Regions from separate parts of the Homo sapiens genome. Here region 2 is linked to region 1. The links are contacts of gene promoters, found by promoter capture Hi-C in blood cells and fetal thymus (Javierre and others, 2016). All regions are on one chromosome and are shown on one strand. The core of a region is centred on a gene start or on the middle of the fragment in contact, and the rest is flanking DNA. Distances in the headings are between cores, read along the strand shown.

Region 1 (6,233 bases), core at 1,781-4,280:
AAGCTGACACTGTAGTAAGTTTTTCTTTAAAACTGTATAAGGACAGAGAATACCAGCCCCAGGAAAGAGGGGCTCCAGGTAGTTTCTGAAGGGGTGAGGGAAGGGTTGCTTCTTCACAGGAGTCAAAGGACAGGATCTCTCAGTCACTTTTCTAAGAAGTGCAAAGAGGGCCAGACAAGGTGGCTCCTGCAGGTAATTCCAGCATTTTGAGAGTCCGTGGTGGGAGGACTGCTTGAGCCCAGGAGTTCAAGACCAGCATAGGCAATGTAGTGAAACCCTATCCCCAAAAAGTAGATTAATTAATTAATTAATTAAAAATTAGCCAGTAGCCAGGTATGGTTGCACACACCTGTGGTTCCAGCTATGCTGGGAGGCTGAGGCAGGAGGATCCCTTCAGCCTGGGAGTTGGAGGCCGCAGTGAGCCCTGATCGTGCCACTGCACTCCAGCATGGTTGTCGGAGTGAGACCCTCTCTCAAAAAAAAAATTAAAGTAGGCTGGGCGCAGTGGCTCACGCCTGTAATCCCAGCACTTTGGGAGGCTGAGGTGGGCAGATCACCTGAGGTCAAAAGTTCAAGACCAGTCTGAACAACATGGAGAAACCCCCTCTCTACTAAAAATACAAAATTAGCCGGCCATGGTGGCACATGCCTGTAATCCCAGGTACTCGGGAAGCTGAGGCAGGAGAACCGCTTGAACCCGGGAGGCGGAGGTTGTGGTGAGCCGAGATCACACCATTGCACTCCAGCCTGGACAACAAGAGCGAAACTCAGTCTCAAAAAAATAAAAAATAAAAAATAAAAAAAATAAAGCAGCAAGTCTAAAATCTGATATGAAAGGGCGCTGCCCAGAAAGGGCAGTGTTACTGACAGCTGCCTCATTTCTCCCTAAGTCTCTGTTCCATTGTCTCGGCCAACCTATGAAAGCACTGACATCAGAATGTCTCATCTCATCTGGCAGGCTGGGAGCAGGAATGACGTCAGACAAGGGCTGGCCAAGAAAGACCAGGGGATCTGGGAACTGCTTCTCTTTCCCAGCCAACGGGAATCTTTCCCAGATGCTAGGGTGCAAGGGCCTTCCTCAACCCCCATCCTCTGCCCCCTCTCCCACAAAACCGCCTATCACACACGGCTTGGTTCATTTTCAGGAAATGAGATCCGACCAGCAAAAGGAGGAAGGCGGGGTGGGGGGATGTGGGGTATACATGCTACCCAAACCCTGCCTCAAAACAAAGCCTCTTGACATAATTAATCCAAGATCTGGCAGGAGTCTACTCTAAAGAATGATTTTTTTCCCCCTGTAACTAGCTCGCTTGCCATACTGAGAGATAAGGCCAGCTGCTTCCCATCTCTCTCTCCCAGAAACTCTCCAAGCATCGGAACAACGCGGTCAAGACTAGGACCCCAGGAGGACTGGAGCGGGTGGGGTGGGGGGCGATTAGTATCCAAGGTTTTGAAGTGTCCCGCTCAGAAACACCTACCTTTCAGGTAGCTCGCTGAGGAATCAGACTCCAGCCTAACCCAGTATCACCTGAACCTCCAAAAAGCCTCAGGTGAAATGAACTAACTTAGAAGCATCACCCAGGCCTGGGGAGAAATGGGGCGAGGGGTTGTCGCGTCTGGAGGTGTGGCCTTCACTTGGGCTCAGGAGCAGACACCCTAATCTGGCCTTGTGGCCAGAAACACGGCTCCCGCCAGGCCAGCCTCGCACCCCAGGGACAGCCGGGCGCGGAGCTCTCTGCGAGGGTTTATCAACTCAGGAAAACGGCTTTTTTTTAGATGGAGTTTCGCTCTTGTTGCCCAGGCTGGAGTGTAATGGCACGATCTAGGCTCACTGCAATCTCCGCCTCCTGGGTTCAAGCGATTCTCCTGCCTCAGCCTCCCAAGTAGCTGGGCTTACAGGCATGCGCCACCACTCCCGGCTAATTTTGTATTTTTAGTAGAGACGGAGTTTCTCCATGTTGGTTAGGCTGGTCTCGAACTCCCGACTTCAGGTGATCCGCCCGCCTCGGCCTCCCAAAGTGCTGGGATTACAGGCGTGAGCCACCGCGCCTGGCCGAAAGCGACTCTTTAATCCAGTCTTCCGCAAGCACCCAAGCCACGCCAGCAGCCCGTGGGAAACCAACAAAGCCAGAGGAAGCTACCCCCGCGCCCAGTCCCGCACGCTGCACGGTATACATATTTACAATAGCCTGCAAAGTTTCAGGCCGGGAACTTGAGCTCCCTCTAGGAGATCCCAGCCCGAGTGCGGATTTAATTCTCCTCCAACAACCACAACAAAGAACAGAGTTTGAGCGCACAAAGGCAGGGGAAGGGGGTAGAAGAGCCGGGCCGCCACACAAAGGCCGGGAACCCCTCGGCTCCCACGCCCCCGGCCCGCCGCCAGTCCGGAGGCCCCTTCCAGGCTCTGGAGTGAAACCTGGATAGTTTCAAATTCCGCGCTGTGCAGAGCAGAGTGGGGCGCCAAGACGCCTTCTCGACTGTCCCATTTCAGGAGAAACTTGGTTCCCGAGGGAGGACCAGCGCGCTGCTGTCCGACCTCGCACCCCGCGCCGCGGCTCCCACCAGCCCCACGTAGGCTCGGCCCTCGCCCCGGGGACTCACCGTTACACCACTGGAATGGGTGCATCAATGAAGTCGCGGTTGGCTTCCTCGGGCGAACGGACGCAGGCGGGGTGCCAGGAGGGCGGGGTGGGAGCACTAGCGGCGTGAGGGGCCGCAGGCGGGGTCGGGGCAGCGCGCTGCAGCCGCCCTGCTGGAGAAGCCGAACTCCCTCCGGAGTGGGGGGCTTTGACGAGGCTGGTGTTCAGCCCAACAAAGAGGGACGAGGAGGAAACAAACAAAGTCCCGCGGAGCACAGCCGCACGGAGCGCACGCGCCAAGGGCCCCGGGCTGGGGGAATGTGGGGCGCCGCGGGGCGGGGGTGCCCGGGCTGCAGAAGCCCTCGGCCGGGGGAGGAGGGAAAAACCTTTGCCGGAGGCTCGGATCGGGTTCAGCGGCGCAGAGGTGAGCTGGCTGGGGTTCCGAAACTGACACCCGGCGGTGCACACCCCCTCCCTTTTACTTCCCCCACCAGTCCCCAGGAAAACTCCGCCCCTTGTTCGTCACCCTCCCTCCGACCAATCGGAGCCTTTCTCCTGCCCCCGGCTATTATTTGCAGGCCCAGCCTCCCTTCCCTGGAAGCCGGGAGGATCTTCGCACGGTGGGCGCCTCCCACTTAGTCTTCCCAGGCCTGGGGAAACTTCGGTCTGCAGAGAATGGAGCGGCGACGAGCGATGCCCCGGAGTGGGGGCCTGCCTTTTGCCCAGGGACACCAAGGCAAAGGAACAATTACTGCCACATTGTTTTCCGCCTACAGATCTGTTATTTATTTACTTATGTATTTGGAGGCAGAGTCTGCCTCTATCGCCAAGGCTGGAGTGCAGCGGCGCGATCTCAGCTCACTGCAACCTCTGCCTCTCGGGTTCAGGTGATTCTCCTGCCTCAGCCTCCTGAGTAGCTGGGATTACAGGCGCTTACCACCATGCCCAGATAATTTTTGTATTTTTAATAGCGACGGGGTTTCGCCATGTTGGACAGGCTGTTCTCGAACTCCTGGCCTCAAGTGATCCTCCTGCTTCAGCCTTCCAAAGTGCTGGGATTATAGGCGTGAGCCACCGCTCCCGGCCCTCTTTTTCTTTTTTGAGTTAGAGTCTTGCTCTGTCACTCAGCTGGAGTGCAGCGGTGCAATAATAGCTTACTGCAGCCTCCAACTTCTGGGCCCAAGCAGTCCTGCCACCTTAGCCTCCCAAGAAACTGGGACCACAGGTGCCTGCCACCAAGCCCAGCTACTTTTTAATTGTTTTGTATAGATGAGTGGCCTCACTATGTTGCTCAGGCTGGTCTCGAACTCCTGGACTCAAGTGATCCTCCCGCCTGAGCCTCCCAGATTGCTGGGATTACAGGCATGAGCCATGGCACCCAGGACATTTCATTTCTTAATTGGATAATTGCAAAAGCTTCCTAACTGGCCATTCTGATTCTAGTCTATAGCTCAGACTTCAGAGCCTACAAGAATCACTCCTATGTTTGAGATGTAACATGCAGATTCCCAGGCCTTGAACCCAGAGATTCTGATTCAATAAAGGGTGGACCCAGAAATTTTCATTTTAATGTGCCTTGTCTTCCCCACCCCTCAAATTCTCATGCGGCTATTGAAAGAAACAGTGCTCTGATTTCACTCTCAAGTCCATCCCTTCTGGTCACAATTATCTCTGTAAAATGTAAATCTGAACATTTCTTTGCTTGATAACGTTTGTTGGTCTCCAGTGTTTACTGAATAAAGTTCTGTAAACTAGAGTGTGGCATTCAAAATGTTTCAGTCTAGACTCACTCCTATAATCTCAAAACTTCGGGAGGCTGAGGCGGGCAGATTGCTTGAGCTCAAGAGTTTGAGACCATCCTGGGCAACATGGTGAAGCCACCTGTAAAAAAAATACAAAAATTAGCTGGGCCTGGTGGTGCGCACCTGCGGTCCCAGCTACTCTGGTGGCTGAGGTGGGAGAATCACTGGAGTTCGAGAAGTCGAGGATGCAGCTGCAGTGAGCTGTGATTGTGCCACTGCACTCCAGCCTGGGCGACAGAATGAGACTACTCTGTTTCAAAAAGAAAAAAGAAAAAACTATTAAAATAAAGTGTTTCAGTCTAGCCTTATTTGTTTCAGTCTTCCTCATACTCAAATACTCCCCTTCACCACACACTATTCATCAGCCATGAAGCTTTTTGTTGTTACTCTTCCTTGAACATAGGCTGTGTATATTCTTTTTTGTTGTTGTTTTTATTTATTTAGAGACAAGGTCTGGTTCTGTTGCCCAGGTTTGAATGCAGTTGCATGATCTTGGCTCACTACAACCTCCACCTCCTGGGTTCAAGCCATCCTCCCACCTCAGCCTCCTGAGTAGCTGGCACTACAGGCACTCACCACTATGCCCGGCTAATTTTTTTTTTTTTTTTTTTTTTGTAGAGACTGGGTTTAGCCACGTTGCCCAGGCTGGTCACAAACTCATGAGCTCAGGCTATCTGCCTGCTTCAGCCTCCCAAGTGCTAGGATTAATGGGGGAGGCTATACATGTGTGGGGCTGGGGGTGTATCAGAACTCTGTACCTTCTTCTCAATTTTGCTGTGAACCTAAAACTACGCTGAAAAATAAAGTCTTTAAAAAAAAAAGTGTGCATAATGGTAACTATTGTTCTTTCTATTCATTGGCTCGGGGGAGAGATGTGATGGGTAATCCTAATTTTATTAAGGCTCTCCTGCTAACTGCCTCCAGCGCCAGACTGTGAAAGAAGGAGAGCCTTTGAAGGGAAAATTGATGGGAAGTGAGGAACACCTCCCGTCCCACTCGCCTTTGGACTAGAGGTTCTTGGAAGGAAAACACCCTTAAAGGTAGGAATGATGGAAATTCTTCTTTTTTTGAAACGGAGTCTTGCTCTGTGTCGCCCAGGCTGGAGTGCAGTGGCTTGATCTCAGCTCACTGCAGCCTTCGCCTCCCAGGTTCAAGTGATTCTCCTGCCTCAGCCTCCTGAGCAGCTAGGATTACAGGTGCAACAATTTATATTTTAAGCCTGATATTTTAAGCATTCAATAAGATCTCCAGAGGCACTTAAGGACTCCAATTTCGAAAAACTGCTGTATCCCTTCACACTCTCCTCCCTTCGTCCCTCCTGGCCAGTGTGGCCACAGGACCTCAACTGATGGCTGACATTGGGAGTTATATGTTGGTAGAAGGGCTTTGGTTCTGGGCATCTTTGAAATGATTGGTTCAGTCCCAGCATTTTCCTGGACTGAAGGGTTCTATGAAAGATAAGCTGATTTCTCACACCATGTCAACCAAATTTAGATCTCTCACTCCTCCACCCTCACCACCAGGTGACTCAGCTCCACATGAGTCAGGAAGACTAGTTTGGTTTATTGAGGAAGAAACTGAAACAGTAAAGAAGATGATGGGCCATATATTCAAAGCTACTTGATAAATATGAGGTAGAAATATGTTTCTAGGATGGGTGTGGTAGCTCACACCTCAGCACTTTGAGAGGTTGAGGTGAAGGAGCTTGAGCCAGGAGTTGGAGACCAGCCTGGACAACATAGCAAGACCCCATCTCTACAAAAAATAAACATCAGCTGGGCATGGCGGCACATGCCTGTAGTCCCAGCTACTCCAGAGGCTGAGGTGTTCAAGGCTGCAGTGAGCTATGATT
Region 2 (6,233 bases), core at 1,191-3,690, about 32 Mb before region 1:
GACCAAGGCTTGCCTGAGCAGGATATGAAAGCCGCGCTGCTAGAATCTAAGCTGGACCGCAGCATAGGCCACGCGCTTTCCATCCTACCTGCCCTGTAACGTGACTGACGTTAGCTGCGGTGGGGCGAGGAGCGCCGTCTTGTGTCCTGAGTTTGATCACCTCGTCAGACCACAAGTTGGAGGTGTGGGTTTCTGAAGTGACAACATCCTCACTGAAATTCTGCCCATGCACTTTCTCTTCTCATTTTGTTTCCACCCACCGTGACCTTTTTCCTCTTTTTCCACCCCAAAGGAAGAGAAATGTCAAGAAAATAACACTACAGAGCACATATGGAGGAAAGGCAGACAGTGCAAAGATTGCAATAACTGTGTTCCTCCAAGTTATAAGATGTGGAAATAAGACAAGTGATGGGTCCCACGTCCAACGTGGCTCGGCTAGAAGGTGCTTTCTGCTTTAATATGTGGGGATTTCTGGCTGTCTCTGGACTGTGCCCAACAATAAGCCCTAAAAAGTGAACCCTGATTCAGCTGTGAGGGCCTGAGGTCCAGCAGCTCTGCACTGTGGCTCTCTGGCCCCACCCACCCCAGCTTGTGACTGGTGAGTCACCCAGCCCAGCAGACACCATCGTGCCCTCTGCAGATGCACAAGCTGCTTCCTGCCTTGCTTTCCTCCCAGAGCTGTTTGCCATAAATGACCACACGTGTAAGAAAGCACATTGCATACTTCTAACATTCGGTGTGAGCACCACGTGTACACATAAACAAGTATCCGTGCGTTTATCTACAAAATAGAAGTAGTCCAAGGATATGGTACAGCTGTTAAAAGGCTTGACAAAATTGAAACACAGTAATGGTGCTTCTGAAGTTTGCCAAATTTCTATGATGATGAAAAAGCTTTTATCCCAGATACAAAACCTTTGTTCTCAGCATCATCTAGTGACAAGTCGATGGGACTAGGCATTAAGAGATGGGATGTGGATTAAGTAGGATCACTGGGTTTTGGTGAAAGACACCGTTATGAGTTGAATTATACCCCATTCAAAAAAAAAAGGTATGTTGGAGACCTAACCACCCCCCATACCTGGAAATGTGACTTTATTTGGAAATAGGGTCTTGTCTATTTCCAAAGAGGGAATGAAATTAAATCAAATTCAGATAAGGTCATGAGGGAGGATCCTAATTGAATACAGTCAGTGTTCTTATAAAAAGGGGAAACTGGGACACAGAGAGACACACACAGAGGAAGGACACCACGTGAGGACTGGAGCTCCACCACCGAGCCGAGGAGCCACTCAGCCCAGGGGCCACCCAGCCGAGGGGCCACCGGAGGCCAGATCCAGGCCCAGCTGGGACAGACCCTCCCCTGGAGCCTTCAGGGGAGCTCAACCCTGCGGACACCGGGATCTCCGACTTCTGGCTTGGGAGAGAAGACCGTCCTATTGTTTGTGGCACTTTGTTATGGCAGCCCTAACAAACTGATACAGACCCTAAAGCGAGAGGGGTGAACACAGTTCTGACTTTGAAGGCACCAAAGCCCACGTTTGCATTCCAGTTCTGATGCTTATTGATGGTGGCACCACCTGATTTCTCTGAGCTTATTTTCTTTTCATTTATTTATTTTTGAGAGGGAGTCTCACTCTGTCGCCCAGGCTGGAGTGGAGTGGCATGATCTCAGCTCACTGCAGCCTCTGCCTGCTGGGTTCAAGCGATTCTCCTGCCTCAGCCTCCTGAGTAGCTGGGAGTACAGGCACCCGCCACCATGCCCAGCTATTTTTTTTTTTGTATTTTTAATAGAGACAGGGTTTCACCATGTTGGCCAGGCTGGACTCGAACTCCTGACCTCAGGTGATCCACCTGCCTCAGCCTCCCAAAGTGCTGGGATTACCAGTGTGAGCCACTGCAACCTGGCTTTATTTTCTTTGTAAAAAGACATGTGTATCTATCTGAACACACAGATTACAGATACAGATGTGGACATAGATGTAGCTATGGACATAGATGTATATAGATATAGATATAGTAATATAGTTTAGATATTTGTCCCCACCCAAGTCTCATGTTGAGTTGTAATCTCCAGTGTTGGAGATGGGGTCTGGCGGGAGGGGTTTAGTTCGTGGGTGAAGATCCCTCGTGGCTTTGTGCTGTCCTCACAATGGTGAGTGAGTTCTCAGGAGGTCTGGGTGTTTAAGTGTGTGGCAGCTCCCCCAACCCACTCTCTCTCTCTCTGACTTCAGCTCTGTCCATGTGACACACCTGCTCCTGCTTCACCTTCCGCCATGAGCAAAAGCTCCCAGAGGCCTCCCCAGAAGCGGAGCAGATGCTGGTACGATGTTTGCGCAGCCTGCAGAACCGTTAGCCAATTCCACCTCTTTTCTTTGTAAATGACCCAGTCTCAGGTATTTCTTTATAGCAATGCAAGAATGACTTAACAGATATAGACACAGCTGTGATATGGGTATAGATGTAGAAATATAGAGATATGGGTATGGGTATAGATATTGATATGACTGTAGATGTAGATGTAGGTGTATATGTAGACACAGATAAGGATACAGACATATAATTGGCACGCGTACCTGGGATAACACAGATAAAGATGCTTCCTCTCTCTTCTCCTAGACCGGGAGCTCACTGGCAGCAAAGACCCCACATTGCTTCCTGTGTCCATCCCAGTGACACAGCTGCACCTAGGCACACAGCGGATGTCCTTGAGCACCTGTCAGGAAGGCTGACACAGCCTAACCCGCTTGCTCACTCCTCCGACCTCCCACGTGAATGGTACCCCACCAGCCACTATGGTGATGAACAACCCGAGGTCGGTGTCTGGCTGGAAGTTCCCTGGCCCTCAAAAATTATTTTATGTATGGAACATATGGTTTAATGTTTAAATTCTTTAAACTTGCCCGACATAATTGAGCTCACCGATTAGCCCACAGCTAAGGAGTCCTTGCCATTATATCTATGTCCTTCTCTTTATCTTGTTTCCAGCAGCCCCACCCTGCCCTGGCCTGAGCCCCCCACATCCCCCTTGCTGCAAAAATGAATCATTCCCCCTACCTTCCCCAGCTCTGCCCCAATTCCAGGTCAGGCTTTTGTGCTCCAGAAATCATCTACGGGTTTTCCACATAATGCCCATGACAATTTAGCGTCTCTTACCAACATCAGCATCAAGAAGCTACATAAAATGCGTGGATGTTAAATCTACAGTGAGAGCTCCTGGATAGCTCCGTGCCCCAGATTCGCTAATCAGCCTGCAAACCATTTGCACGCAGGCTTTCGTTTACAACAAGAGCTTACATTTTAGCATGAGGCAGAAAGACAAGAAACTCTCACAGATCTCATCTATTCTTCTTTTCAATTACTTTGTAATTCTACACTTCCATTAAGAAGTTAATTACTTCAACGTTAACCTTCCATCTATCTTTGTAACATAAAACAAAGATTGGATAAAAATACAAGGACTTACTAAAATGGCAAACGCTTATAGAACACTTACGAGGTGGCAGGCGGGGTTTTCAGGGCTCCGCTCATTGAGTATATTAACCGGGATTCCCGTGAGGGCTGTGAGACAAACACGGGCAGTGCTCAAAACGCTTCACAGCCAGTTCAGCTCCACGTTGATTGCTGAGTCGTGGAAACGTGCAAGGGGTCCCGGAGAGTCAACTGTTTACCAACTGGCTTGGGAGTATTCAAATGTGTAACAACGGAACGCTGATGTGCCGGGGTATGTGGCCTGAATCCCACCAGCCTCTGTGGCAGGAACAGCATCAGCCCATTTTATAGAGAAGGAAACTGAGGCCCAGAGACAGGAAGCGACATTCCCAGGGCTCACAGACAGCATGGGTGCAGATGGACCGTGCAGTCTGGTTTCCACAGCTGAGCCAGTGGCCTCTGCACTAACTGTCTCAATTCTGGGACTGGAAATGGACTGTGTGTGTACGTTACAATATTGTTTTAACAACCAGATACATTTTCTGACTTCCTATGAAAGCTTTCAAATGCACAGAAAAAGTGAAAAAGAAATAAGATGAATACTCATGTACCAAACAACCAGATCGACGATTCTTATTGTTCAGTCATATTTACTTCAGCACATACACATACACACCATCCTCACACACATACACATACACACACGTACACGTTCACACAGACACATACATACTCACACACATATGCTGACATACACACACACTCACATACACTCTTGCACACACAGCTGAGCCCTTTCAGAATAAACCACCATACTGTCACTCGAGCCCAGTGCTTCAGCACATTTCTCTTAAAAACATAAACTTTTGGCTGGGCACGGTAGCTCACACCTGTAATCCCAGCACTTTGGGAGGCGGAGGTGGGCGGATCACCTGAGGTCAGGAGTTCGAGACCACCCTGACCAACATGGAGACACCCCATCTCTACTAAAAGAAACAAAAATACAAAATTAGCCAGGCTTGGTGGCGCGTGCCTGTAATCCCAGCTACTTGGGAGGCTGAGGCAGTACAATCGCTTGAACCCGGGAGGCAGAGGTTGCGGTGAGCCGAGATCACGCCACTGCACTCCAGCCTGGGCAATAAGAGGGAAACGTCATTTCAAAAAAAAAGAAAGTCAGCAATAAGTCACTAAGACTACCGAATGCTCAGTCCATATTGAAATGTCCCCAGTTGTCCCTGAGGATGCGTCTGACCACTGCCTGTTGGAAAAGCCCCCAATCACGGCTCACATGGTGAGTGCAGTTGTCACATGTCTTTGGCTGTTTTAATCTAGACTCAACTCCCTGACACACACACACTCCCCAACCCGCTCCCAGCACACTGATCTGTTATGGAGACCTGGCCAATTGTCCACATTCTAGATTTGTCCGGTTCCCTATGGCTTCGTTTAACTGGTTCCTCTGTGGCCTGGATTTTCTGCCACATGGAATTTCAGCCTTGATTGGCCAGAAAGCTTCACAGGGAATACCTCGACTCACAGCATCATGCCCGGAGCCAGGTCCCCTCAGGCTGACCACACACATTTTAATGATAGTCAAAGATGTATCAAGCAAGATAATTCAGTAAAAAATTCTAATGTTAATAAAAATGCTGGCCAGGCGCGGTGGCTCACGCCTGTAATCCCAGGACTTTGGGAGGCCGAGGAGGGCGGACCACCTGAGGTCGGAAGTTCAAGACCAGCCTGACTAACATGGAGAAACCCTATCTCTGCTAAAAATACAAAATTAGCCAGGCATGGTGGTGCATGCCTGTAATCCCAGCTACTAGGGAGGCTGAGGCAGGAGAATCGCTTGAACCCCAGAGGCAGGGGTTGCGGTGAGCTGAGATCATGCCATTGCACTCCAGCCTGGGCAACAAGAGCAAAACTCCGTCTCAAAAGAAAAATAAATAAATAAATACATAAACAGATAAATACATAAATACATAAATAAATAAATAATCTGGTTGGGCGTGGTGGCTGAGGCCTGCAATCGCAGCACTTTGGGAGGCCAAGGCAGACAGATCACCTGTGGTCAGGAATTCGAGACCAGCCTGACCAACATGGTGAAACCCCGTCTTTACTAAAAATACAAAATTAGCTGGGCGTGGTGGTACGTGTCTGCAGTTCCAGCTACTCAGGAGGCTGAAGTAAGAGAATCGCTTGAACCCAGGAGGTAGAGGTTGCAGTGAGCCGAGATCACACCCCTGCACTCCAGCCTGGGCAACAAGAGTGAAACTCCGTCTCAAAAAAAAAAAAAAATCTGATGTTAAGAAATATGCTGGCTGTGCATGGTGGCTCACGCCTGTAATCCCAACACCATGGGAGGCTGAGGCAGGAGGATTGCCTGACCCTAGGAGTTCAAGACCATCCTGGGCAACATAGAAAGACTCTATTTCTACAAAAAATACAAAAATTAGCTAGAAGTGGTGGCTCCCACCTGTGGTGCCAGCTATTCAGGAGGCTGAGATGGGAGGATCGCTTGAGCCTAGGAAGTCAACGCTGCAGTGAGCCGTGATTGCACCATTGCCCTCCAGCTTGGGCGACAGAGCAAGACCGTGTTTCAAAACACACACACACACAGAGACACACACAGACACAGACACAGACACACAGAGACATACACAGACACACACACACAGACACACACACAGACACACAGAGACATACACAGACACACACAGACACACACACAGACACACAGAGACACACACAGACACACACACACAGATACACATACAGACACACACGAACACACATACAGA

The links. The method cuts DNA at HindIII sites, captures the fragments that hold promoters and counts their contacts. A CHiCAGO score of 5 or more calls a contact.
Region 2: a fragment that was not itself captured here is called in contact with the fragment with the promoter of RNF122 in region 1 in 1 of 17 cell types (M2 macrophages); the score reaches 6.4 in M2 macrophages.

Annotation. Positions count from the first base shown.
Region 1 is chr8:33,564,098-33,570,330 of GRCh38, forward strand. It overlaps RNF122 (ring finger protein 122), which reads right to left and starts at 3,031. Exons shown (of 6, transcript NM_024787.3): 1 at 2,602-3,031. The coding sequence starts at 2,626. RefSeq lists silencers at 2,406-2,455, 2,596-2,645, 2,676-2,745, 2,796-2,915. The HindIII fragment of the contact is 8,620 bases long and covers 1-3,993 here.
Region 2 is chr8:1,745,718-1,751,950 of GRCh38, forward strand. LOC105377778 (a long non-coding RNA gene) reads right to left here. Exons shown (of 4, transcript XR_007060784.1): 3 at 2,577-2,687. Among named protein-coding and RNA genes, the nearest start is that of CLN8, 15 kb to the right of the region's middle. The HindIII fragment of the contact is 3,097 bases long and covers 893-3,989 here.